Linked DNA regions of Homo sapiens: regions 1, 2 and 3 are each linked to region 4. Evidence: promoter capture Hi-C in 16 types of primary human blood cells and fetal thymus (Javierre and others, 2016). All regions are on one chromosome and are shown on one strand. The core of a region is centred on a gene start or on the middle of the fragment in contact, and the rest is flanking DNA. Distances in the headings are between cores, read along the strand shown.

The links. Contacts are between HindIII fragments. The CHiCAGO score rates a contact against its expected background, and 5 or more counts as called.
Region 1: a contact is called between a fragment that was not itself captured here and the fragment with the promoter of ADH5 in region 4, in 2 of 17 cell types (activated CD4 T cells and non-activated CD4 T cells). The highest score is 5.6, in activated CD4 T cells.
Region 2: a contact is called between a fragment that was not itself captured here and the fragment with the promoter of ADH5 in region 4, in 1 of 17 cell types (M0 macrophages). The highest score is 5.2, in M0 macrophages.
Region 3: a fragment that was not itself captured here is called in contact with the fragment with the promoter of ADH5 in region 4 in 1 of 17 cell types (megakaryocytes); the score reaches 5.8 in megakaryocytes.

What each region holds. Positions count from the first base shown.
Region 1 is chr4:99,507,550-99,510,249 of GRCh38, reverse strand. No RefSeq gene overlaps it. Among named protein-coding and RNA genes, the nearest start is that of C4orf17, 2.1 kb to the left of the region's middle. The HindIII fragment of the contact is 2,374 bases long and covers 98-2,471 here.
Region 2 is chr4:99,457,803-99,460,502 of GRCh38, reverse strand. No RefSeq gene overlaps it. Among named protein-coding and RNA genes, the nearest start is that of ADH7, 24 kb to the right of the region's middle. The HindIII fragment of the contact is 2,123 bases long and covers 355-2,477 here.
Region 3 is chr4:99,397,380-99,400,079 of GRCh38, reverse strand. The region is part of intron 3 of LOC102723576 (a long non-coding RNA gene); the gene reads left to right. Among named protein-coding and RNA genes, the nearest start is that of ADH7, 37 kb to the left of the region's middle. The HindIII fragment of the contact is 208 bases long and covers 1,343-1,550 here.
Region 4 is chr4:99,087,366-99,090,065 of GRCh38, reverse strand. ADH5 (alcohol dehydrogenase 5 (class III), chi polypeptide) reads left to right here and starts at 1,278. Exons shown (of 9, transcript NM_000671.4): 1 at 1,278-1,377. The coding sequence starts at 1,366. LOC100507053 (a long non-coding RNA gene) reads right to left here and starts at 1,209. Exons shown (of 10, transcript NR_037884.1): 1 at 782-1,209. RefSeq lists a silencer at 1,246-1,295 and a promoter at 80-1,333. The HindIII fragment of the contact is 7,789 bases long and covers 1-1,550 here.

The DNA.
Region 1 (2,700 bases), core at 35-2,534, 420 kb before region 4:
CTAATAACAGAGATCAGAAATAGTGTTCTAAGTAAGATAGATGTGTATTTCTTCCTCACATGGAAGAGTTCAACCATCTAGGGTTGGTATGGAAGCTTTATGAAGCATCATTATGGACCTTGGCTTCATCTATGTTTTAGGTCCATCTTTCTTAATATTAGGCTTCCATTTTTGAAATTATCCCTTGTTCAAGATGGTTCCTGAAGTTCCAGTCATCCAAGATGGCTGCTATATTTGCACATATCAAATCTGTACTCCAAGCAGGAAACAAGAGGAAGGTTGGGGAGGTAAGGGCTGACAAGGGCACATGCTAGCTATCTGCTCTCTTTGTAAGAGCCTTCTCATGAGTCTCAGACAATAATCTATGTTGCATTGATGATTTATAGCTACAAGAAAGGATAGAAAATGTAGTTTCTTAACAGGGCACATTGACACCCCATTCTAAAACAGGGGCTCTAACAAGAGAGGGAGAAAGTATAAATCGGGTTATAAAAAGCAATCTCAACCACAGATCCTGACATTAATACCTAACTCTGGGTAGGAGAAGTCTACACTCTGTGTGCTGTGCTTTCCCTTAGAGAGGGTCACTAGAGATAAACATGTACTTGGCTATGTAACTATGTTATTTTCCATTTATGAAGCCCCATGGGGAATTTTCCTGTCTCATTACTAGGAAAAAAATGATACAACTGGCTTGTTTGCATTAATTTTGTCAGAATCAAAAAGACAGAGGTTGCTCTGCTGCACTGCTCAGGGTAGCACAGGTATCCTTGTTGCCTTGGATACTCTATTATTTTAGCAAAGAAAACAGATGGAAAGTTTTTTTGGAATATGTGCATATATTTATGAATGGTAATTAGTGATTTTTAAACTTATCTGGGGTCATGATAAGCAGGAAATCCACAGGTTTTTCATTGCCCACAGATATTTTGAAAATTGTTATGGACTGAGTTGTGTCCCCCAACAAATTCGTATCTTAATCTCTAACCCCCAATGTGACTGTATTTACAGATGGGGCCCTCAAGGAGATGATTAAGTTTAAATAAGATTATAAGGGTTGGACCCTAATCTTATAGGACTGGTGTTCTTACATGAAAAGGAAGAAACACCAGAGCCCTCTCTGTCTCCTTGCATGAGCTGGCCATGTTAGGACAAAGGAAGAAGGGGACATCTATCACCAGAAAGTGGCCCCTCAGCAGACATTCAATCTGCCAGTGCCTTGTTCTTAACCTTACCAGCTTCCATAACTGTAAGAAATAAGTTTCTATTGTTTCTAAGCTGCCCAGTCTAGGGTATTTTGTTATAGCAGCCCAATTTGACTAAGACAAGGCTTCACCAAAAACTAAGCCTGCCAGTACCTTGATCTTGGACATTCAGCCTCCAGAACTTTGAACATATAAATTTCTGTTGTTGAAGCCACTCAGTCTGTTGTATTCTGTGATGGCAGCACAAGCTGATTGATACAAGTGTAAATATGCAGGATACTCTGTAAGCTCTGTTCTCTCCATGAATAAGCAGTGTGGCCACATCTCAAAGCTGTGAACTAGTTAGGCCTATTCATTTTGATCACCTAAAATCCTCACTTTGCATTTACTATAAAAATGCCACAGGTGTCTGATTAACATATGAGAAAGCAATGTAAGTGATTTCGGAAAGGAAAAGATGCTAATTTAACATAATGGAAGAATAAAATTTAATTTCGTCTGGTGCCTTGACCACCCTATATTCTGTTCTGTCAATTTTGAAAGCATATGTTTCAGTCTCGAATTTGTAACAAATATCTACAATCACAGAAAATGGTGCTTTTCACTCTGTGATCTCCAGAGTACAACAAAAATGCTGACATAAGTGTCATAGAAAGAATTCTACAATGGCTGCCAAGATTTCCTCCCCATGGTGTACATACTCTGTGTTATCGCCTTCTCTTGAGTGTGGGTAGACCTGTTAATATGATAAATATCACTCCTGCAATTAGTTTGCATTTTCTGGCAAAGATGAAGAGATTTTACAGATATAAAGTCCCTAATCAGAATGACTTTGAGTTTATCAATCTCTGTTAATCAAAAGGAGATTATTTTGGTCTGTCCCAAACTAATCAGATAAGCCCTTTAAAAGAAGATTTAGGCCTTCCCCACTATCAGAGATGCTCCCTTGCTTACTTTAAAAAAGCAAGGCATTACAAGTTCTCAAGCTGGGAGGAAATGAACCTGCAAACAACCATGAGAGCTTGGGAGAAGACCTCAGAAGAAGACCCAAGCCACAGCACATATCTTGATTGCAGCCTTTTGACAGTTCTCACCCAGCCTTTTCCAAAGACTTCCTGTTAGTCATACCTTCCTCTAAGAATATGAGTAACTCAAAACTTCAAAAGAATTAAAAAGAAGCTCTTCAAAAAAGGTGAATACACCCTTAGAGTTCTCTTCATGGGGCAAAATCTGGGTTCACATTGGATAGATAGAAAATATAAAGCTTCAGGCCAGGCATGGTGGCTTATACCTGTAATCTCAGTGTTTTGGAAGACTGAGGTGGGAGGATTATTTGAAGCCAGGAGGTCAAGAGCAGCCTGAGCAACATAGCAAGACCCTGTCACTACAATAAAATTTTTAAAAAAGAAAATATAGTTTCCTGTTAGAAGAGCACTGTAGCAAAACTCCTAAGCCCGGTTGCTTACCTTGTTATTGTCCAGTCATAACCAACCCC
Region 2 (2,700 bases), core at 167-2,666, 370 kb before region 4:
ACTCCAGCCTGGGTGAAAGAGTGCAACCCTGTCTCAAAAAAAGTGCATATATATATATATTATATATCATATATATACAGATATATATCAGAATATATATATCTATATATCAGAATATATATTCTATATATAATCTTTAGGTACTTTGGTTGAAAAATGAAAGGTATTACCCTCCAAAATAATGATTAGCAATCACAAATAAAACTGTCCTAGTAAGTACCTATTACAGTGTGCACTTTAACTTCATTATGTTATTCTACATTTATAATACCTCTTTAAGACATGCCTTATTTACTGGGTCTCTGAAAAATGCAGTACCTTTTTCAAGGTACATAGTTAGTACCTGGTCAAGCTTAGATTCTAACTCCAAAACCTGTTTTCTTTTCACCATGAAACACTGAAAATGAACCAAACTGAAAATGACTAAGCAAATAATTTTATCTAGAAAGACCTAAAAGAGTAAGAAGAAAAAATATAGTTAATATTTTTAGATAAATCATTTTTATAACATGATAATTCAAAGTATTAAAAACATTGATGTTTCTCAGTCTTCTCTCATTTTTCTCTTTAAAAGGAACTACTCCAATATGATAGTGCACTCAAAATAAGTTAATAATTGGCCTGTCTTGCTGAATCAATTTAGACTTACCTAATTTGTTTTGTTGACTTTCACTCCTCCACTGGGGTGGATGGAGAAAGCTACATTTACACAGGGCTATGTTTTAACATAAACTGAGGTGGGGTTCCTGAAGCTGGGCTCTCCAAAGGAACAGAATAGGCAGCATATAGTGCAACCATGGTATGACTGCCTCAGACTGACTCGATGCCTTTCTCAAAGTCCCAATAATAGAATCAATCTTTAGCTGGCACATTTCCTAGCGTGGTGCCATTTTAATCCATGAGCCCAAATTCGTTGGTCAGATGGGTTGGCGAGCTCTCTCCTCACACGGAGCAAAACAAGAACAGAAGGAGGGATATAAGTCAGGGGAGAGGATATAAGAAAGACCTGGATCTCAAAACATTTCAAGGAGGGAGCTCTACTTTTGAGACCCTGTGTTGTGTGAGGCAATCTAGCGGGCAGACAAGGCAGAAACCAAGGAAACAGGAGATTCATGACTAAACATGCATAATTATATATGGCACTAGCCACAGGCAAGAGTCATTCTGTGAGCTCACCTGTTCCCAAGCCCATCCCAGATTCCAGTGCTCTTGCCTCTGAATTAATACAATACTCCTTGTTTGATTAATTAATGTTAGCTGCTTATCGTCTTACGAAACTTTTCATAGGACAATGTCTTATGTTTTCTGCCCTACTGTAATGTGTCTTTTATGTTGCACATACTACAATGTTGCGCCACTGTTAGGATAATCGGTAGCTAAATGAATGAGTGGAATGAAGGAATGATAGTTAAGAATCTTTGCAGACTAGGGCAGAGACAGGAAGGTGTTGGGGGAGTCTGAAACAGGAATCAGGTTTCACCTCACAGCGTTCCTTAGGAATGATTGTTCATTCAGACAACTCCAATTTCCTGGTTTTCTTCTTTTGGTTAAAATGTGTACACCTCTTCTCTCAGAGTCTGTTCCCTGGAAGCAGCTCATCTTCCTCGGCGGCTGTCCTTTACCCCAAGGCTGTCCTCACCTCCTGTGCTCCTCGGCCATGCCAAGAGTCTCCAGGCCTCTGCTCCTTTATTTTTCCAGCTGTGGGGGGAAATTACCTTTTGTGAAAAGTAATACATAGAAACAAATAAGAAACAGTAAAATCATTTAATATATTGATTATTTCTTCTTGTGATGACTTACTGGATTAGAAAAAGAAATACAATGTATACTTTATTTCCAAGAAAAAGTTTCTGCATTTAAATATCCTAAGAATTCGAGTCCGTACAGGATTTGGAATCCAGATTTGTGACTGTTATAGAAGAGAAGGTTACATACGTGGTTTTCAAAATTGCTTTAGCCATAAAATTCTTACCATTCTTCCCTTGTGCTGTCCCTGAGGGAATCAATAAAGAACATGTGAAATCTGTTTCTAGATGATTGGAAAAGGTAGAACTCCAGACAGTGCCAGTTAGTGGGGTGCTAAGTTAGTTGGCTATCAGGCTGAGGAGATATGGAATCACTGGCTGTTAGATTTAAGTCAGTATTATGATACACATTGGTGGGGGATAATCTATTAATAGTTAGAAATATTGGTCTTGATAAAGTCTGGATTCAGATTCCACTGCTGCTTAGCTGTGTGATATTGGATTAGTTACTTAACCTCGCAACCCTTCAATTTACTTATCTGTGATATGGGAATACTAATATCAACCACTTCATAAAGTTATTTCATAAAAATGAAACGATATAATGCATGTAAAGCTCTTAGCCCTGCATCTGGCACATGGTAAACATTCAATAAATATTAGCTAACATTTGTGTAATCATATCTCTTAACAGCTTGAATTGATTTTCATTTATGCATAGTGCAGAAAGCTTATTGTCCAATACAACTCCAAACTACTTTTGATGACTTTAGTTGAAGTCCACCAGGGAGACACCTGAAATCAAAGAAAGATTTGGGTTTATTTGCTTGTTGTAACAAGAGACAACATGCCTTTGGGAACTGTAAGGTATCTCATAAGAGGATGCCAGAAAGAAGTTATTATAAGAGTTGTGCTTGTGTTAGATGAGTCTGCAAAGGGTTTAAGGAAGTGGAGC
Region 3 (2,700 bases), core at 197-2,696, 310 kb before region 4:
CCATCATCTCAACCATTTATCCTTTATGTTATGAATAATCTAATTATACCCTTTCAGTTATTTTTAAATGAGCAATTAAATTATTATTGACTATAGTCACCCTGTTGTGCTGTCAATTTGTTATTCATTCCAACAATATTTTGGTACCTACCATCCCCACTTCCCCTGATCCGCCCATTACCCTTCTCAGCATCTGGTAGCCATCTTTCTACTCTATCTCCATGAATTCAATTGTTTTAATTTTTAGCTCCCACAAATAAGTGAAAACATGTGAAGTTTGGGTCTTTCGGTGACTGGCTTATTTCACTTTACATAATGATGTCCAGTTCCATCAGTGTTGTTGCAAATGACAGGATCTCATTTTTTATGGCTGAACAGTACCCCATTGTGTATATGTACCACAGTTTCTTTCTTTTCTTTTTTTTTTCTTAAAAGATGGGGTCTTGCTTTGTCACCCAGGCTGGAGTACAGTGGTGTGATCATGGCTCACTGCCACCTTGAACTCCCAGGCTCAAGGGATCCTACTGCCTCAGCATCCTGAGTAGCTGGGTCTAGAGATGTGAGCCACCATGCCTGGGTAATTAAACAACAAAAACAAAAACAAAAATGTAGAGATGGGGCCTTGCCATCTTGCCCACATTGGTCTCAAACTCCTGGACTCAAGCAGTTCTCCTGCCTTTGCCTCCCAAAGTGGTAAGATAAAAGGCATGAGCCACCACACCCAGCCTCACATTTTCTTTATCCATTCATTTGTTGATGGACACTTGGGTTGCTTCCAAATCTTGGCCACTGTGAAGAGTACCACAACAAACATGGGAATGCACATATCTCTTTGATATCCTGATTTCTTTTATTTTGGGTGTATACACAACAGTGAGACTGCTGGATCATATGGCAACTCTATTTTTAGTTTGTTTAGGAACCGACAAACTGTTCTGCTTAGGAGTTGTACTAATTTACATCCCCACTAACAGTTTACAAGGGTTCCCTTTTCTTCACATCCTTGCTAGAATTTGTTATTTCCTGCCTTTGAATAAAGCCATTTTAACTGGAGAGGGCATCTCCTTGAGGTTTTGATTTGCATTTATCTTATGATGAATGATGTTAAGCACCTTTTCATATAGCTGATTGCCATCTGTATGTCTTCTTTTGAGATATGTCTACTCAGACCTTTTGCCCATGTTTTAATTGGATTATTAAATTTTTTCCTATAGAATTGTTTGAGCTCCTCATTTATTCTGGTTATTAATCTCTTGTCAGATGGGTAGATTGCAAATATTTTCTCTCACTCTGTGGATTGACTCTTCATTTTGTTGATTGTTTCTTTTGCTGTGCAGAAGCTTTTTACCTTTTGTGTTCCCATTTGTCTGTTTTTGCTTTGGTTGCCTGTGCTTGTGGGGTATTACTCAAGAAATCTTTGCCCACTCCAACGTCTTGGAGACTTTCCTGAAAGTTTTCATTTAGTAATTCCATAATTTGAGGCCTTAGATTTACGTATTTAATACATTTTGATTTTATTTTTGTATATAGTCAGAGATAGGGGTCAAGCTTTATTCTTTTGCATATGGATATCCATTTTTCCCAGAACTATTTATTGAAGAAACTCTCCTTTCCCCAATGTATGATATTGGTGGCTTCATCAAAAATTAGTTCACTCTAGATGTATGAATTTGTTTCTGAGTTCTCTATGCTGTTCCATTGGTCTTTTTGTTTGTTTTTATGGCAGTACCATGCTGTTTTGCTTATTATAGCTCTGTGCTATAATTTAAAGTCAGGTAATGTGATTCCTTCACTTCTTTAGCTTAGGATAGCTTTGGCTATTCTGGGGCTTCTGTGGTTCAATATAAATTTCAGGATTGTTTTTTCCATTTCTGTGAAGAATGTCTGGTATTTTGATAGGGATTGCACTGAATCTGTAGACTGCTTTGGGTAGTATGAACATTTTAACAATATTGATTCTTCCAATGCATGAACATGAAATGTCTTTTCATTTTTTTGTAGCATCTTCAATTTCTTGCATCAGTGTTTTATACTTTTCATTGTAGAGATCTTTCACTTCTTTGGTTAATTCCTTGGTATTTTATTTTATTTTATTTGTTGCTTTTGTAAATAAGATTACTTTCTTGATTTCTGTTTCAGATTGTTTGCTGTTGGTGTATAGAAATGCTACTGATTTTGTATGTTTATTTTGTATCCTGAAACTTTACTGAATTTGTTTATCAGTTCTAATAGTTTCTTTGTTGGAGCCTTTAGGCTTTTCCAAATATAAGATCATATTATGGGCAAACAAGGATAAATTTGAATTCTTCCTTTCAATTTGATGCCCTTTCTTTCTTTCTTTTGTCTGATTACTCTAGCTAGGATTTCAGTACTATGTTGAATAATGGTGGTAAAAATGGGCAGCTTTATCATGTTCCTGACCTTAGAGGAAAGGCTTTCAGCTTTTCTCCATTCAGTAGGATACTAGCTATGGGTCTGTCGTATATAGCTTTTATTATGTTGAGGTACATTCCTTCTATGCCCAGTTTTTTCAGGATTTTCAACATCTCATGATGCAATATTGAATTTTATCAATGCTTTTTCAGCTTCCATGGAAACGATCATATGATTTTTGTCCTTCATTCTGTTGATATGATGTATCACATTGATTGATTTGCATATGTTGAACCATCCTTGAAGCTATGGGACAAATCTCACTTG
Region 4 (2,700 bases), core at 29-2,528:
GCATTCGATTGTGAGATATCCTAATGGAGACAGAAATCCAGTAGGCAGTTACATGTCCAAGTCTGGAGTTTAGGGGAGCCATCCTGATTGGAGATAATAATCTGGTAGTCATCTTTCCATAAATAGACGTTAAAAGCCAAAGTGTGAGTGAGAGAGTGGAGTGAAAGGACGGAAAGACTTTGGACAATCTTACCATATGTACCCGGAAAAGAGCCAAGAAAAAGACTGAAAGACAGAAAAGAGCAGTGTGTCTGACAGAGCTATTTTAACAAAATTCAGCGTTTACAACAGAGTTTAAGAGTAAACTGGCAGGCCAGGTGCGGTGGCTCATGCCCGTAATCCCAGCACTTTGGGAGGCTGAGGTGGGTGAATCACTTGAGGTTAGGAGTTCAAGACCAGACTGGCATACATGGTGAGACCAACCCCCTGCCCCCACTCCCAATCTCTACTAAAAATACAAAATTGAGCCAGCGTGGTGGCGTGTGCCTGTGATCCCAACTACTCAGGAGGCTGAGGCACGAGAATCACTTGAACCTAGGAGGCGGAGGTTGCAGTGACCCGAGATCGCGCCACTGCACTCCAGCCTGGGCGACAGTGCGAGACTCCGTCTCAAACAAACAAAGAAAGAGTAAACCGACAAATACTACATTCTCTCTCTCTACACTCTGGCCCACTCTTAACACAAAAAACTGTCCAGGATCAGGAGACTTTTTGTTCTCCTCATCTCCTCCTTCCAAAGTTCTCTGCCCACGTTCTACTGTCTCCCCAAAATCCTACCTACCCTTCAGGAACTGCTGGAATGGGAGCTTGGGAAGTTTCAGCAAACTCCTCTCTCCTCCTTTGTGGCCCCTTTATTCCCAAAGCTGTGTCCTCTCCCTATGACGAGTCCCTTGAGGGGCTGTATCTTACTCCTTGTGTCTCCAAGCACACATAATGTGTATTAGGGGAGGAAGCATTCGCCAGTGGAGCACAAAGCTGTTGCAGGTCTCTTACTGGTTCTCAGGCGCTTTCAGTGAAATTCCCGTTCCCTCACCGTCCACATCTGTAATTTGCAAGTCTTATCTACGATAACTGCTGTAAAGTTACACGGGGAAGCCCTTTCCCGACAAAAAAAACGAGTTCTGCAACAAGTCCGTCGGATTTTAGCAATGAAACCGGCGCCGTGCAGCCTCGCCGGCGAGTGCACCCTGGAACGCACAACTTAGCGGCACGCACCACAGCTCGAGCACCGCCCTTCCGGTTGGAGCCATTGCAAGCCCCCCCCACGCCCCGCCCCCCTCGCTAGGCGCTCGCCACGCCCATGCCTCCGTCGCTGCGCGGCCCACCCCGGATGTCAGCCCCCCGCGCCGACCAGAATCCGTGAACATGGCGAACGAGGTAGGGCCCGTTGAGCGGAGGGCCCTGAGTCCAAGGGAGGGAGTGCATGGCATGGGACTAGGCTGCTATCCTCGGGGGCGCGCGAGGCTCGGCGCCCAAGACGGGATCTGGCTCTTGGTTCTGAAACTGGGCCCCCAGCGAGCGGCTCAGAGGGGCAGAAAGAGAAGGAAGCTTTGTCTCGGCTCTTCAGTTGGGAAGCAGCTTTCTTTGCTGCTTCTGGGACAGTCGGAACGGGGTGGGGGGGTGGGAGAGCCGGAGAGTGGGGGGCAGGGGCTGGTCAGGTCGGTATCCCAGTGGAAATGGCTTAGGAGCGGCCACGCATTGCTTCTTACACGAAATTAAGTAACTCGCTCTGGGTCATTCTTGCAGCTTGCATACTTGGCAGAGCTGCAGCCAGATCCCGTGCTTCTAACTCCTAGGTTGCTTGTGTTGCATAATTGAGCCTACGCCTTAATTATTGTGCCTCCAAGGAGTGTATTTTGGAAAGACCCCTACGTCCCTTTCAGAAACATTTTCGAGCACTTAAATACCAAGAGATTTATATTCCCTCTAGTCCTCACGTAACAAACACCTCTGCGAGGTGTTATCCCCATCTTACCAAAAACTGAGGTTTGAGGTTGGTTGTGCTTGGTCACACCAACGATGGCGAGCTGGGATTCCGACCCAGGTCTGCTCCTCTATGACAAATTCATAAAATACAAATTAGACAGTAAAGAAAGGCAGAAATTACGAATAACATACTCAGTCTAAAGTTGCTGATTATTTTAATGTTTTGCAATTTTGGACATTTTCTAGTAAGACAAATGGCCTTAAACATATTGGAGTTTGAAAGAAATAAACTCTAAACAGTCTTTCAGACTTAAACTGGTAGTTGCTTTTCCTTATTACTGAGTGTCTTTATTCAGAGAAGGTGAAAGATTATAATTGTTACTATAGTTCAAATGTTGAAGTAGGGCCATTTCCCGCGGATTTAGAGTGGGGCTTTGTTTTGCTTAGAATTGTCAGTAAAAGGAAAAGGTTAGGCTCCATTAAGACATTTTTTAAAGGGGAGCAGGCCATCAAATTTAGTATTCTTGTTTCTTTGGATTCCTATGTTGCATAACTTAATTGTTAGTATTCTGAATCTGACTTGTGGAGTTGAAATTTATGGCACATTGAAATGAAAAAGGTTCTAATGCAGTGTCTGATTCTTTGTACTATGAGATTTAATATCTGCAATTTAATTTTAAAAACGATCATTTCCACATTTCCAACCTCACCAATTTACAGAGGCCATTTCCCTCCCCCCCCCCTCCCCCGCCAGTTCAGACGGAGTTTCGCTCT